Regions from separate parts of the Homo sapiens genome. Here region 2 is linked to region 1. Evidence: promoter capture Hi-C in 16 types of primary human blood cells and fetal thymus (Javierre and others, 2016). All regions are on one chromosome and are shown on one strand. Each heading gives the region's core, a stretch centred on a gene start or on the middle of the fragment in contact. The rest is flanking DNA. Distances are from core to core; before and after follow the strand shown. Region 1 holds the start of LINC02295 (long intergenic non-protein coding RNA 2295). Region 2 has its middle 210 kb from the start of LINC02914.

What was found. Contacts are between HindIII fragments. The CHiCAGO score rates a contact against its expected background, and 5 or more counts as called.
Region 2: a contact is called between a fragment that was not itself captured here and the fragment with the promoter of LINC02295 in region 1, in 1 of 17 cell types (fetal thymus). The highest score is 5.2, in fetal thymus.

Annotation. Positions count from the first base shown.
Region 1 is chr14:98,131,052-98,138,551 of GRCh38, reverse strand. It overlaps LINC02295 (long intergenic non-protein coding RNA 2295), which reads right to left and starts at 2,565. Exons shown (of 3, transcript NR_184268.1): 1 at 2,355-2,565. The region is part of intron 1 of LOC105370655 (a long non-coding RNA gene); the gene reads left to right. The HindIII fragment of the contact is 6,410 bases long and covers 861-7,270 here.
Region 2 is chr14:98,915,288-98,922,787 of GRCh38, reverse strand. No RefSeq gene overlaps it. Among named protein-coding and RNA genes, the nearest start is that of LINC02914, 210 kb to the right of the region's middle. The HindIII fragment of the contact is 1,485 bases long and covers 3,622-5,106 here.

The DNA of each region.
Region 1 (7,500 bases), core at 1,316-3,815:
CGTCTTTCTGCTATTTCTGTATGTATGCACGTATGCAGATACGTGCAGAATATTATATATTTTTAAGATAGGTATAAACAGATAGTAACACAATGAAGGAACATCTGAGCTAGTCATCAGCTCTAACTGCAGCCTTTTAAAAGAAAATGTAACTCCAGATGTCGTCTTAAGAAAATGAATCAATTAGGCAAATGAGGAATTTCCTCATAAATCAGAGGATGAGAAGCCAAAGTCCAGTCCTTGCCCAGGGGAGGAAACAGAGATGAGGGCTGCCCGGAGGTTGCCATTTTTCATGGCCAGGTAACCCAGCCGCCTCCTGCTCTCCTGAAGTCGTGTTTACCTTATTGAATGCTGGTTTGATTTGGAAAGAGTGTTCTGAATGTTCCAAACCTTTTACCCTGAAGATAATAATGCCTCAGCCTTCAGGAGTGGGACCCAGTATAAGCTGGTGTCACTATTCATGAAATAATTGAGTTTACACAAAAAGTGATTTCAGTAATAGCTGCCTTTTTATAAGTATGTACATTTTATTTAAAATTACTGACTCAAAAGGCAAGGTAGAAAAAAAAATCACCTCCAACAACTTCCTGTAATTGCGAATTATTGTGAGGGAAACAGAAGGAAAAGATTTCGAAATTATGAGCCATTATGCTCGAGAGAGAGGAGAGAGAGAGAGAGAGAGAGAGAGGGAGAGAGAGGGAGAGAGAGAGAGGCAGTGGGGAAAAAAAAAAGACAGCCTGGCTTCATGAAACACAGCTGACAAGCTCGACTAAATTACCCCCGGACCATTACAAAAATCACTTAATTGCCAAGCATTTTGTTAGGTCAATTGACTCTAATTGAAAAAATAACAAAAAGCTTATTATGCTGCAAATGCGGCCGTGGAAAATGAGTCTTCTGTTAGAAGGAAACAATAATTCTAAATTTCAGCTGCTGCTAACACTACAAAGTTCAGTGTTTCCTTCGGATAGAATCCGCAGTGGAGGAGAAAGTGAATATGCATCAATTGATTTTTTTTCCTTTTAGCGCTTCCCCCCAACACTTCTTGCTCTTCCTGATCTTCTCCTTCCCTGCCTCATCCTACCCCCACCCTCATCCTACCCCCACCCTCATCCCCGCCTTGTCCCCACATGATTAGCAGGGGCCCCCTCCACCCCCTTCCATCAGCAAATATACACCTCACTCCCATCTCCCTCCTTATCTTCCTGCAAGAAAGGGTTGGGAGACAAAGAGGGGGCCAGCAGTGTGGGGCCCTGGGTTAGGAGAGATGTCCAGTATCTGCCCTCCCCAGCCCCAGCAGGATGCTGCAGCCTCGGTAAAATGCCTCCCCCACCATTTTCTTTCCATGAGCTGCTCTTTCTCTCTCCCCTCCTGGCTGTCGCCTTATCTCCTCCTCTCCCCTTTTAAATGCAGATAATAGAATAAGGCAAACAGCTTATGTCCGCAAAATTCCTCTGAAATTGCCCCCTAACATGCATACCCAGAGCTGGCCTTGATTGACATCAAGTGCAGTAATTAAAAACCCTGCCAGCTGACATAGGTGAAGGTTTATTTATAATTACACATTTTTAGGATGGCTCGTCCAGGGTCGGTGCATTTAAAAAGATAAGTCGGCCACAGCTCTGTTACTCCCCCAATTATAGATTTGAATGGTGGGAGTTTATAATGGGGGCGGGGAATTCTGCTTTGCAAAAAAAGGAATTATTTGTTCATAAAACCAGGAGGCCAGGGTACGAAAGTCTGATGGCAGAGCCTTTGTCTAGAAAGCTGTGGGAGAGAGAGTGTGTGTCTGTGTGTGTACCTGTGTATGCCTGTGTGTGCATGGGTGTGTGCACCTGCATGTGTACCTGGGAGTGTGTGTGTCTATCTATGGGTGTGTGTGGGCCTGTATGTGTACATGTGTGGGTCTGTGTGTATGGATGCATGCACCTGTGTGTATACATGTGTGTGCCTGCATGCACATGTGGGTGTATGGAAGGGGAGTCATGCGGTGAAGCAGAAAACACCTCCCTCTCCCTGTGCTTAAACACAGAGCTATACTCACAAATCATTTCCCTGCTTGCTTTATCTAAAATGTTAAAAATCTTGCCCAGCTTCAAATCCAAGACTATCAGATCTGACATTCCTAAGAACCCACTGTGAAAGAGGATTCCTCCGTGGGAGCCCAGGGAGCTGGGACAGGAGCTTCTGGGAGGACTGTGTGGGCATAGAGTTCCTAGGAGGCGGAAGCTGCCTGCACACAGCAGGGTGTTTGACACCCATGGGGCAGTGCCCAAAAGCAGCAGCCAGCAGGTCCCCTCTCCCCAACATCCGCTTCTCATTGTTGCCTTTTTTTAGAGCTTGGTATCACTTACCCAGAGGGGCAGAGCCGGCCATATCAGACTGTGCATCTCACGTGTGTGGTTTCTTGGGCCCCACAGCTGGAGACAATGGCAGGAGCGGCCTTGGAGAGCCCCGATTGTCACCTGGCGTCTTGGCAGGCAGCTGAACCCAGAAGTAAACTGAGCCAGGCAGGGAGCTACAGGTGTTAAAGGTACCAGAAAGCAAGGCTCGAAAATCAGATATGAGAGAAAAGGGGAGCAACAGGAAGCCTTTGTATAGGGGGTGCCACTGCATTTCAGACATGCCTGGCCAGGGGGCACAGGGCACAGGGCTTGTCCAAGAAGACAGGATGCAAAACCCACTGCTGACCAGGGAGCCAAGAGCTGTGAAAGGGTCTAGGTGGGTCACCCAGAACAGTCCCTCTGCCCCAGAACGCTGCACAGAGAGATTGCCTGGAAGGAAGCAGGTCCTTCCGATTAAGTGGCAGAACCCTACTGAGAGAAATAAAAGTGAGGAATGGTGAATTCGGCACCACTTGCCAGACCAATGGGCTTCATCAATTAATCACAGCCAAATAATCACCACCTACATTAAAGAATAATACATGAAAAGGACAGGAGCCTCACTGTAACTTATTCAGAAAGGGCTGCCTCCCTAATCCCTCTGAGTCCTGACATGTTAACAGGGTAGCGACTAATTAGATGTCAAAAATTCATAAGCGCTCTTTAATATTGCATATATCTGCAGCCGACATTTCAATATGAGAGTTGTATACACAGAAGTCACTATAGCATTAAAACACAGTGGGGTGGAAGAAATAAAAGGGAACCAATAAAAACAATGTCCCTTAAAAACCCCAGAGAGTGCCAGCTTTGGAAGTGTGTACTTTCTTATTCAGAAAAGGTATCACCTTAATAAGAATTATAGGCAAAGGGGTTTCGCTGCTCTGTGCTGCATGGACAGAAAGGGGGTGAGGAGACGAGCTTATCAAAAGCACTGCCAGGTAAATAGTAATTTATTGTGCATGCACAATGAACATTACCCAGTGTCCTGACACTGGGTGATAATGAAAGGCATGTTATTGTGGAATCCACTGAGGGAATTTCCACTCCCCCCGCTCCCTTCTCCCCTTCTCCTCTTGTCTCTCTTGAGCAAAGAAGCCGTGATGGGTCCTGGCAGCTTCTGCCTGTTTCAAGCCATTTCACATAATATAGAAAGCACCTGAAGTTTAGTGGATTAAGTAAGTGAGTTAGTTTGCCAGCTTGGTGATATATATGTTGCTTGCATGTGAACTTATATTTCAAATGCTGGGGACTATATTTTTATGAAACAAGCCTTTTCCTGTCGGAAGAATTATAGGAATGTGATATAATACAAGGCAGTGAGATTAAAAACAATGCATCATAGCAGAGAGAAAATGCACTGTTTTATGACTTGCATCCGTTAATTGAACCTCTCAGGAATCAAGAGAAGGGCTCTGCAGGAACCTGCTGGAAAATCACTCTCTTTTTTTACTTCCATGTTCTGTTTTTTTGTTGTTGTAGTTGTTATTTTTATTTTTTATCATACATATAGATACATATATACATGCATATATATATACACACACATATTTATGGACACACACAGCCATGAATGACGTATGTTGCTTTCTGTACAATACTGTACTTTTATTTTCTTTTAATGCTGCTCACATTTGACTTAGAGTGAGGAAGTTGTGTTGAAGAGCATTAAAGAAGCTATCTGAATTCAAATCATTAGGTGGACAATTGTTAGTAGCTGTGCACAAATCCCATTAGCCTTCTGGGCCTCAGTTTTCTCTTCTGCAAGACAGGTGTGGTGATGTTGTCCTTCCAGGTTGGTTAAAGCAAAGTACAGTAAAGACAACAGGAAAGCCAAGACTCCTGTGAGATTCCAAGTGCTATATAGACTTTCTGTCCTGATTATCTTGAGTTGAGACCATGGTTGGGCTGCTTTTTGCCACATATACTGTGATATTGACACAGATTTATATTTTATTGTCAGGTGAATTTTGTTTTTTACTTGAATTTCCCCATCATTGCAACAACACAGCAAGCTACGCAAAAGTGATTAATGATCAGTTTCATGGTTTGAAGGAAATCCCTTTCAAAGACAGTCCGGTGCCCCATCTCTGATTACATCCATGCAGACTCAATATTTGGGTGCAGTGCTGGACCCATGCCTCTCCCTGGAATGTCAACACCAAGGGGAGGTTTCCCAAGAAAGGATGAGACCTGACTTAGTCATCTGGCACAATGCCAGGGTCAATGGTCAATCTTTATCTGATTATACAGGGTCTTTGATTTGAAATTCACTATGTTAATTCAGGCTGAAAGAGTCCTTTATGATCAATATTTAAATCGTAATTAACTGCATTCACTTGCTATTTTTGTACGTCTGATTCTTCTTACGATGTTAAATCAGGTTCTTCCCTGGTTTCAGCATTTCATATTTCAAAACAATATTCTCTATCAAATTTGACCAGTATCTAGGAAAACAAGATCTCTCCTGGCTTTCCTGGAGTGCTGATAATGAGACCTTTCTTTCTTTCAGTTGGTTAAGATTAAAGTCTAAGTCACTTCATTCATTCATTTCATTATTCACCCACCTCATTCATTCACTCATCCATCCATTCCTGCATTCACCTTTCAAATAGTTTTGAGCACAGCTCCTAGCACCTGAAGCTATGTGTTTTCTCTTGGCAATACTGTGAAAAAAATTTATAGTCCAGTGGGTTTGGGCAACAAGTAAACAAGTGACTCAGACACTGATAGAAGTGCCAGGAGAGCAGCAGGTGCTTGTTAGGGGAGTGTCGGAGGAGGCAAAACAGGGCCACTTAATCTGGTCTAGGAAGGGAGTGGTCAGGAGAGCTCCCCAGAAATGTCAACCAGTCACTGGGGATAGAAGGACTAGTCTGAGATGAGAAATGACAGTAGGGGAATTGGCAGAGGTGAGAGGAACAGCACATGTAAGGGCTTAACTCAGGAGGTCAGTGGAGTGAATTTGTATGGTACTTGTTCTCTTTCTTCCATCCAATCATCTTCAGGAAACAGTACTTAGCATTGTTAAGGGGGAACCACTCCCTCTTGTTCTCAGATGTAATTAATAGCAAAATTAACCCCTGGGTCTAGTTTCAGGAGTGGACTCTCATTGGCTTTACCGATTATTGTACCCATCCCTTTGGCCACTGTGATTGGTTCAAGGATGAGTACACAACCCAATCAGAGACAAGGAAATATGAAGTATTTATTGGAGATTCTGAGAAAGGGAAGCCTTATTTTTCTTCATAGGATCTCTCGGCACTCTTTCTTTTTCTCTGGATAGTAGTTTGTAAGGGTGTAAAGTCTGCAACAGCTACAGCCATTTTTTTTTTAATCAATGAGGAAGAATCCAGAACATCCAGAATATTGCATAGAGGGTGAAGCCAGCATCGTGAAAGGCAGTACAGAAAGGTAGGGAGAAAATGGATGCCTATCATTCACGTGGCTAGGTCTGTGGTTGGCAAGCTCAAGAGCCAGGAGACCCAGTGATTTAGTTCCAGTCCAAGTCTGAGCATCGAGAGAGTCTATAGTATAAGTTTCTGTCTGAAGGCCAGCAGACTCTCAGCCCAGAAAGAGATTTGACACAGGAAAAAAAAAACCCTATGTTCCAGCTCAAGGCAGTCAGGTAGCAGACGTTCCCCATAACGTAGGACAAGGTCAGCCTTTTTATTCTATTCAGGCCTTCAACTGATTGGTTAAGGCCCACTCAAATTCAGAAGGGCAGTATGCTTTATCCAAAGCCCACCAATTTAAATGTTAATCTCATTCCAAAACAGCCTCATAAAAACACTCAGAATAATGTGCGATCAAATATCTAATTAGTCTGCAATCCAGTCAAGCTGACGCATAAAATTAACCACAACAGGCAGGAACTAGGACTTTGTGTGAGTATCCATAATGTATAATGTAGTGCCTGGTACACGGTAGGTGCTCAATAAATACTTCTGAATAAAGTTCATAAATAGCCAGGCTGGCTGGTAATTTTTAGCAAAGAAGACACAGCATTTGGATATGGTATTTATCTTTAAGAGCATAAAGTTCAATTTGATAACCCCTGGCTCATGCACTACTTACTCCTGACCTCTCCACTGGTGAACTTGAGCCGAAGGTTGTGTTCAGCTTCTCATCATTTCTGATTTGGAAGGAGCTTTTCCAAGAGTTCAGAGGCTCCTTTCAAAACTGAGCCTGAGCCTCCTAGCAACCACAGTCACAGGACCTGAGCAGCCAAACCCATTCTGCCTTCAGGGTTGCCCCTCTCTCCCCATGCACACACATTACAGCAGCCCCTTCCAGCCACACAGCCACTGAGCATTTCTGTAGCCTCAGTGTGCAGCTGTGCAAATAAGCACCCTTGGCTCTGAGGTATGCCATTCCCCAGGAACATGACATTGAGCACCAAATCCCAGGACTTATCCTCTGTTTTCAGCCCTCTTTCCAGAAAAGCTACATGATGTGAGTCCTGAGCTCTATCTGATTGGACTCCTTCCATATCTGAACTCTTTCACTCTGGCCTCTAGTTCCAAGTCCTGCTTCCTGTGGTTTGAGTGTTGCTTGTGTGGTCAACACGCTCATGCCTGACAGTGACTCTGGAAATGACAACTATATTGAAAAGAGGAGGCTTACTTTGTGTGTATATGTAGGGGAGGAACCAGATCTGGCAAGCAGGAAAGATGATTTTGACTCAAAGTGAAGATGAAGCTATGTCCAGGGATAGTTCAGAATATGGGATCATGGGCAAGTTATATATTCAAGATCCTGAGTTTGACTTGGTCAGGCCTTGAGTCTGCTCTCCACCATGTCTTGGACAGGTAGGGATAAAAATGATCAGAGAATGAGAACAGGATGAAGGAAGCAATGATGGACAAGGAGAGAGAGTTTTGGAAGCTTGGGCTTGTGCAACAGAAAAGACTTTTTGATTGAAGGTGGGGCATGGGCAGGTTTGCTCTGCACACGTGTAAGTGATGGGAGCCCCTTTATAACTTGGCTGTGTGGTCATCGGGAGGTGACTCTTCCTTATTTATTCTTATCGTCCAGAAGAGAGTGAAATCCTCCAAGTCCCCCCACCCCACCTTTTTTTTTTTTCACTTTTCTAGGCCAGTTTGGGAGAGGAGGTTCT
Region 2 (7,500 bases), core at 3,115-5,614, 780 kb before region 1:
GGGTGCTGTAGAGCTGTCATTCTATGTCCTGAGTTGAATACTATATCTTATTCATCTTTCTTGCTTATTTACTCACTATATTACACAAGCATAGCCTCTATAAAGTTTCCTATAAATCTTTGTATGTCTGATTATGTCTTTCTTCATCTCTCACACATTATTCTACTCTTGCCCTTCAGTGACAGTTTAGCAGGATATAGAATTCCAAGTTGTTGCTTATTTACCCTTAGAACTTTGGAGGGAATTCCACCATTGTGCCAAACCCAGAGGTGCTAATGACACGTCTGACCTTGGTTTTATTCCCTTTCCTTTGAAGATGATCCCTAGATGATTGAGCATTTATCTCTTTATTGTTGGTGTTCTAAAATTGTATAATGATATGCTTACTTATGGATCTGTTTAAACATTTGTGTACTGGCCACTCAATGGCCCAGTATTTCTGAAGACTTTTGTCTTCTACCTTTGGCACCTTCTTTTGTATTATAATTTTTTTAAGACGGCACTTTTCTCTCCATTTTAACCTGTTTTCTCTTTCTAGATTTATTTGTTGGATGCAGAACCTCTTAAATCATGCTTCTTTGCCTCTTCTCTTTTTTTCTCATATTTCCATCTCATAACATTTTTATTCTGCTCTCTAGATTTTCTTTATGTTAGCTTCCAAGCCTTTCATTGAATTTTCTTCCCTTTTGACAATCATATATTTAATTTCCAGAACATTTTCTTGTTAAATGATTGTTCCTTTTACATAGCATCTTGTTCTTACCTTATAGGTGCAATATCTCTTTACATATCTCAGAGGATACAAGCTTATTTTCTCTGAATTATCTTTGTTTTCTCTAAAATCGGTTTTTCAGTTTGTTTCTTTTGGCTTCTCTTCTATTTTCAGACTTCCCTAAGATGTCTGGAGAGCCTTGACTAACCACCTAACTAAAAAGGTGAGATTCTAGATAACTAACAGGGAGCTCTGTGTATCTGGGCAGAGCTGGCTGATGAGCAGGTTCCCCTCTGGGGTCAGGGAGTTGTATGAAGAAAGATGTGGACCTGGGGCATCCTCATGCACTTGGATCTAGGCACTGGTGCCCACACCAGCAATCCTACTTCTTTCCACTTAATGTCTTTAAAGAAAAATTATCCACTTAAAAAGATAGGGCTAGGCATTTGGTCCCTTTTTTTCTATGTCCATGTGGGTGATATGGTTTGGCTGTGTCCGCATCCAATTCTCATCTTGAATTGTGGTTCCCATAATCCCCATGGGTCGTGGGAGGGACCCGGTGGGAGGTAATTGAATCATGGGGGTGGTTACTCCCATGCTGCTGCTCTCATGACAGTGAGTGAGTTCTCATGAGATCTGATGGTTTATAAGGGGCTTTCCCCCTTTTGCTAGGCACTTCTCCTTGCTGCTGCCATATGAAGAAGGATGTGTTTGCTTCCCCTTCTGCCATGATTGTAAGTTTCCTGAGGCCTCCCCAGCCATGTGGAACTGTGAGTCAATTAAACCTCTTTCCTTTACAAATTACCCAGTCTTGGGTATGTCCTTATAGCAGCATGAGGATGGACTAATATAGTGGGGATGGGCCGATGAAGAACTCCGTTGACAGGGATCCACCATTTTATGACCATGTAGAGTATTTTCACTGCCCTGGAAGTCTTCCGGGCTCTGTCTATTCATCTCTGTCTCTCCCGACCCCTGCCAACCACCGATCTTTTTTTACTGTCTCCAAAGTTTTGCCTTTTCCCGTGTGTCATAGAGTTGGAATTATACAGTATGTAGTCTTTTCAGACTGGCTTCTTTTGCTTAGTGCTATGCATGAAAGGTTCCTCCATGTTTTTTCACGGCTTGATAGTTCATTTCTTTACTCTCTGTCCTTTTAGAACAGCGTTTCCCTGATTGCTGTATTTAAATTCGCAGCCCTTCTAGCATTCCCTACCCTGCTCCTTGTTTTGTTCTCTTTCAAAGCATTTAACATCTTGATATGTGCCCTAAAGTCAGCTAACTTATTTTTATCTGTCTTCTCTATGAGGGTGAGAATTGTTATCTGTTTTATTCACTGCCATTTTCCAGAGCCTAGAACAGTGTCTGGTACACAGTAGGTCTCAACAAATACATCCTGACTTGGATATAGAATGGTGTGTTCCACAGATATAGCTGTATCAGCTGCAGGCCTCTGCTTTAGCTCCAAAAGAACCTGTTATGTGTTGTTTTTTCACAAAAACAAGAGTATTCTCTTTCTCCAATGATAAATTCACATCTTCATGTATATGTTAAAAACAGATCAATTGGAAGCTTTGAAATTAGACACCCTTTCCAATCCTAAATGAGGTTTCAAAAATTTCAGGACTAATTTTTAGTTCTGGCAAAGCATGCAGTACTTCTCCCTGCCTTCCTTTTCAACCCTTTTATTTTATTTTATTTTATATTGATTGATTGATTGAGACGGAGTCTCGCTGTCACCCAGGCTGGAGTGCAGTGGCGTGATCTAGGCTCACTACAACCTCCGCCTCCGGGGTTCAAGCGATTCTCCTGCCTCAGCCTCCCATGTAGTTGTGACTACAGGCATGCGCCACCTTGCCCAGCTAATTTTTGTGTTTTTAGTAAAGATGGGGTTTCGCCATGTTGGCCAGGCTGGTCTCTAACTCCTGACCTCAAGTGATCTGCCCCCCTCGGCCTTCCAAACTGTTGGGATTACAGGTGTGAGCCACTGCACCCGGCCCATCTCCAACCCTTTTACTTCCTCCATTTCAGCACCATCAATCCAGTGACAAGAAGGTGATGGTCTTCTTCTGCTGTATAAACCAAACTCAATTCACTTTATTGAAGATGTGACCATGTGGTCCAGACACCGGGGGCTTAAGGACAGGAAACACAGCTCCAATGGCAAAAGTCAACTTAGAAACTGTTGCCTTGTTCCTTGCTTTTCTCTGAGTTCATCTGAGGGAGGCTGTTTGTAAACGGCAAGCACCTTCTCAGATCCTCATTTCCCCTCTCCCCAGTCCTCTTGTGCCTCTGCTGGGTGTCTTGCCTGCCAGCCTTTTGTCCTCATCTGTAAATGCACAGAGTAAGGGCTGTCCTGCCCCTCCCCACTCCGCAGGGTTGCCATGAGAAGCAAAGAAGCTATTGCATGCAAAAAAGCACCAAGGATTGGGCCAGCCCTTCACACTGGCTGTGGTGTGGTGTGGCCAAGGTGGGGACCTGCTGGGACCTCGTAGGGCACTACCCCTGCTGGTGCACTTTGTGGTCTCTGGCCTGGTCCTGTTGCTCAGGGCCTGGATGAGGTCAAGGTGACACCCAGGGGTTTGGAGCAGCTCATCCTTCCTTCCTTAGCAGGTTCTGTCTTTAGGAAAAAAGGTGGGGCTGCAGAGAATCTGATGTTGGGCATAGCCCTGAAATGGACTAGGACCATCACCAGGCCAGCATCAGCCAGAAGTGGAGTTGGGGCCAGGGGTGGTGTCCCCAGATGATGTCCCCTTTCTACTGGCATCTGTGCCCCGTCCCATCTCTCAGACATGGTTTGGGTCCATGAAAATATAAGAGAAGCTGTTTCTAGAAGACGTGTCTATGATTTTCATTGAATTTGTTGTTATTATTAGGAGAGAAATCCTAACACCTGAGCAGACAAAGCTTGATTTGATTTTTTCCAGGGTTCTGATTTTGAAGAGATATAATCGATATGGGGATTGGCCAATGTGGATGAAGCTGGGGCTGTGGTTGAGGAGGGATGTATTTGTGGAGGGTGTCCAGCAGCAGCTTTAGCCTGAGACTGCAGCCTACGGGAGGCAGGGAAGGAGGGGATGGTAAGAGCTGGGGAGTGTGTGGGAGCAGTTCAGGGGGAGGCCAGAGAGGGAGGGGCGCTGTGTTGTGGGCCCCCAACTGACATTCTAAGGACATTTCTGCTTTGCACTCGGGCTATATTCCGTGTGTGTGTGTGTGTGTGTGTGTGTGTGTGTGTGTCCATTGAGCTTGCCCTTGTGCCCTTTGAGAATCTGGCTTTTTATAAGGAGGATCTTCTCTTGGACACTCTCCCTTCACCTCCCTTCCTATCCTCACTCCACCTGAATGGGCTCTAGGCTTTGTCGTATGTCTCGGTACCCTTGGAGGCTCTGAAAATGCAAGGTCAAGGTCCCTATATGGTTATCAGATGTCCTCAGGGCTTTGCAACTCCGCTTCCTTCTCTAACCCCAGTTAGATTTGGACTTCAGGACTTCTTGCTATCTTGCCAGCTGTTCTACCTGTTTAAGAAGCTGTTTGGTACAGTTTACCCTGAGTTTTTTTTGTGTGTGTGTGTGTGTGATTTCCAGCCAACCTAGGTGGCTTTATTACAGGAAATGGCACTCTTCCCTTGAATGGCTCTATCACTACTGCCAGGTGCTCTATGCCTCAATTTCCCCACTCTGAGAGTGGAAGAAAATAGTACTTGCTCTGCTTAACTTTTTTTTTTTTTTTTGAGACATAGTCTCACTCTGTCACCCAGGCTGGAGTGCAGGGGCTCAATCTCAGCTCACTGCAACCTCTGCCTCCGGGGTTCAAGTGATTCTCCTGCCTCAGCCTCCTGAATAGCTGGGATTATAGGTGCACGCCACGACACTCAGCTAACTTCTTATGAAGCATGAATGAGGTTAATGGCTGTGGTGTTCTTGCAGGGACATGAACTCTTCTTCATATGACGGATTTGGAGGGTCCCAGCTGCTTTGGAACTTGTGATAGGGGGTCTCGTTTCACAGCTGTAAGTCTGAGCCCAGGGAGAAGTCAGCAGCCCAAAATCAGTCCATCAGGGGCAGCATCAGGACTGGAAACTGGGTTTTTTGGATTCCATATCTTGCTTCCTGTTCTCTTCATAGCTCCTCTCCTCTTATCACAAACCATGAACCACAGTGTGAGTGGGGCCGATTAGCTTGATCCCACTCAGGGATATAGCCGGGGTGGGGAGGGCTACACACTAGTTTCACTGCGATTTTGCAAGCTGATGATGGGCTGGGTGTTCAAAGCTCTGTTTTCCATCCTCTTCCTCAGCCTGAGCACAGTTCAGCAGGGTGGCGAGGACGTCACTTTGGATGGCTGTATCTTCTTCTCTCAGTCAAGGGTGAGGCTAAAGCCTGAAGATGAAAGCTTGACTCCTTGTTGGGTATATCTGGCCACAGATGATTAGGGAGGAGGCCCCAGACTGAACTTTTTCTCCAACTCTTCCTTTAGGTAGAAAGGGATGGAATGCAGGATTATGATGACTTAATGGGAAAAGACAGACTCCATGCATGGAGTTGCCTTAATAAACAGAGGATTTAACACTGAAGCCAGAGAAGTCTGGGTCTTAATCAATCTATATGAGACCAATTCTATTACAGACACAAGAGTGAGTCTCCATCCTTTTAAGACTTAATTTGCTCTTCTCACGTCAAAGCAGAAATGGGATGCAACTGTCTAACTGCCAACTCTAAGAAATTATTTATGAAAAGACAAATTCCCCACAAGGCCATCCAGAGAAGGGGGGAAGACAAGGGGAGCAAAAGGAAGAAAGAAAAGAAGGGTGGGGGGAAGGCAACCGGTAGACCTGGCGCTTGACACTAAAGGTTTAACATCAAATGCAGCCAGAAATCCATTTCCACAGTTTTACTGGCCATTCTGGACGCCTCATTTCAAAGGGAAAGATTTGAATTCAGAGACATAACGTTCCCTTTGTTCTCTTGCCCTCCAGCCTTTGGTGCCAGTGTGGACTGTACTACAGGGAGAGGGTGAGATCAAACCCCTCTCCGCTCAGCTACCTGCCCCAGAGCTGGCCCTTGGCATGCTTAATGAAATCAGCTTCTCGATAGATTGACAATGCCCTGTCAATTATAATCATTTATCTTGGCAAGCAGAGCATTGGAACACTTAAAAGAGCAGGGGTTCAGCAGGCCCAGGAAAACCAGAATAAAATTATACTGCATGGTAATCAGAGTGAGAGTATATTGCTCACATAAAATTTTACTTTAACTGTCAGAAGGACTGATATGATCTTACTTCTAATTTTCTGCCCATAGGGTGTTCACAGTTCCATTTGGGTCACTTTCTGCTAACTGTGATGTAATAGGGGATTTGCATACGGTCTATGTAAGAGGAGGAGGGCAATTACCCAGTGCACAGGGAAGTTGGGGTGTTTTCTCATTGCTGTTTTTAGGAAACACCAGGATGGGTGTGCAATGGCAATGACAGAGGTGGGAATACAGGATTGGAGGTGAGTCCTTGTTCTCCACTTCCTGACTGTGTTAGCAAGGGCAAAGCATGCCACTTTGCAGTGTCTCACTGTCTTTCACAACAGAGGAAACAGAGATTGTGTATTATTATAAATGCTGATTTTTGCTGGGCATAGGTCCACCTGGAGGATATGCCTGTCCCCTTCTTGGATCAACTTTGGGTGAAGCAGCAACAGCAAGCCCAGACCCATGAGAGAGGCAGCGGGGGGAAGCTGCATCTTGCTTCTCTGCTCATGATCTAGATGGAAGGGCCAGGTCCCGCCAGGCTGCAGAGCAAAGAGCAGTGAGTTGAAGGGTCTCCTGGCCTCACAGTCCCACAGGCCCTGCATGGCACCTGTCTGCAAAGCCTCCAGGAGAATCTGAGCCCCCTGAGATTGGGGCACTGCTGGGAGAGGGCTGGGGGACTCAGCACAAGGGAGGCCTTGTGAATGGAGAGCACAGAGGAAGGCAGCCGTCATCCTCAGATCCCCGGCTATGAAAACAAGGACAGAGGGGCATGAGGGTCAGCCCTCCAAGGCCAGTGGGCACAAGGGACCACTGTGGTCAGAATAATATGCACTTCCCTCCCTCCGGGCTCAGACCTTCCCTGGAGAGGAGAGGGACAAACCCTGAAGGGACTGAGTGTTTCCCCGTTTGACATCAGAAGGCACCAAGTTATCCTGAGCAGATGATTTTCTACCCTCAGCAGAAAGGAAGCCTGAGAGCTCACTTTGCACCCTGGGACTTGGCCTGGGAACACGTGCAGACCAGCAAGGTCATGCTTCTATTTCCTCTGCTGCAACCTGTTGGGGACATTCTGGTAAATGAAGTACAAATAAAACATATCTGCAGCCAACCAGGAAAAGCACTCCCTTTCTGAATGGCCTTTTCAACAGGCATAGACTGAGCTGCCAGTACCTGGCTTTCAGTAGGGCACAACCTGCTTAGAAGCCCCAGAATTTGGCAATTTGTCTATTGTGAGGGAGAGAGAGGTGTGTATGTTCCTTGCAGTCTGGGGGCTGGGGAGGGGTGGGGGTAGGCTGTATGACAGCAGAAACTGGGAATGGTGGTTGTGCTGGACTTTCGAGGGGGACCTACCAAGAACGCACGTTATATTAACATCTGGGGGGGGGACCTACCAAGAACACACTCCGTGACAGGCCTCGCCTAGGACCCTCCACGATACTGTCTCCTCCTTACCATTGCTGTGCAATGTGGGGGAGGGGGATTCTCTGTACTTTACACCTGGGGAAACTGAGGCTTGAGAGGGCAGAGAGAGACTCTTTTCACTCCTCC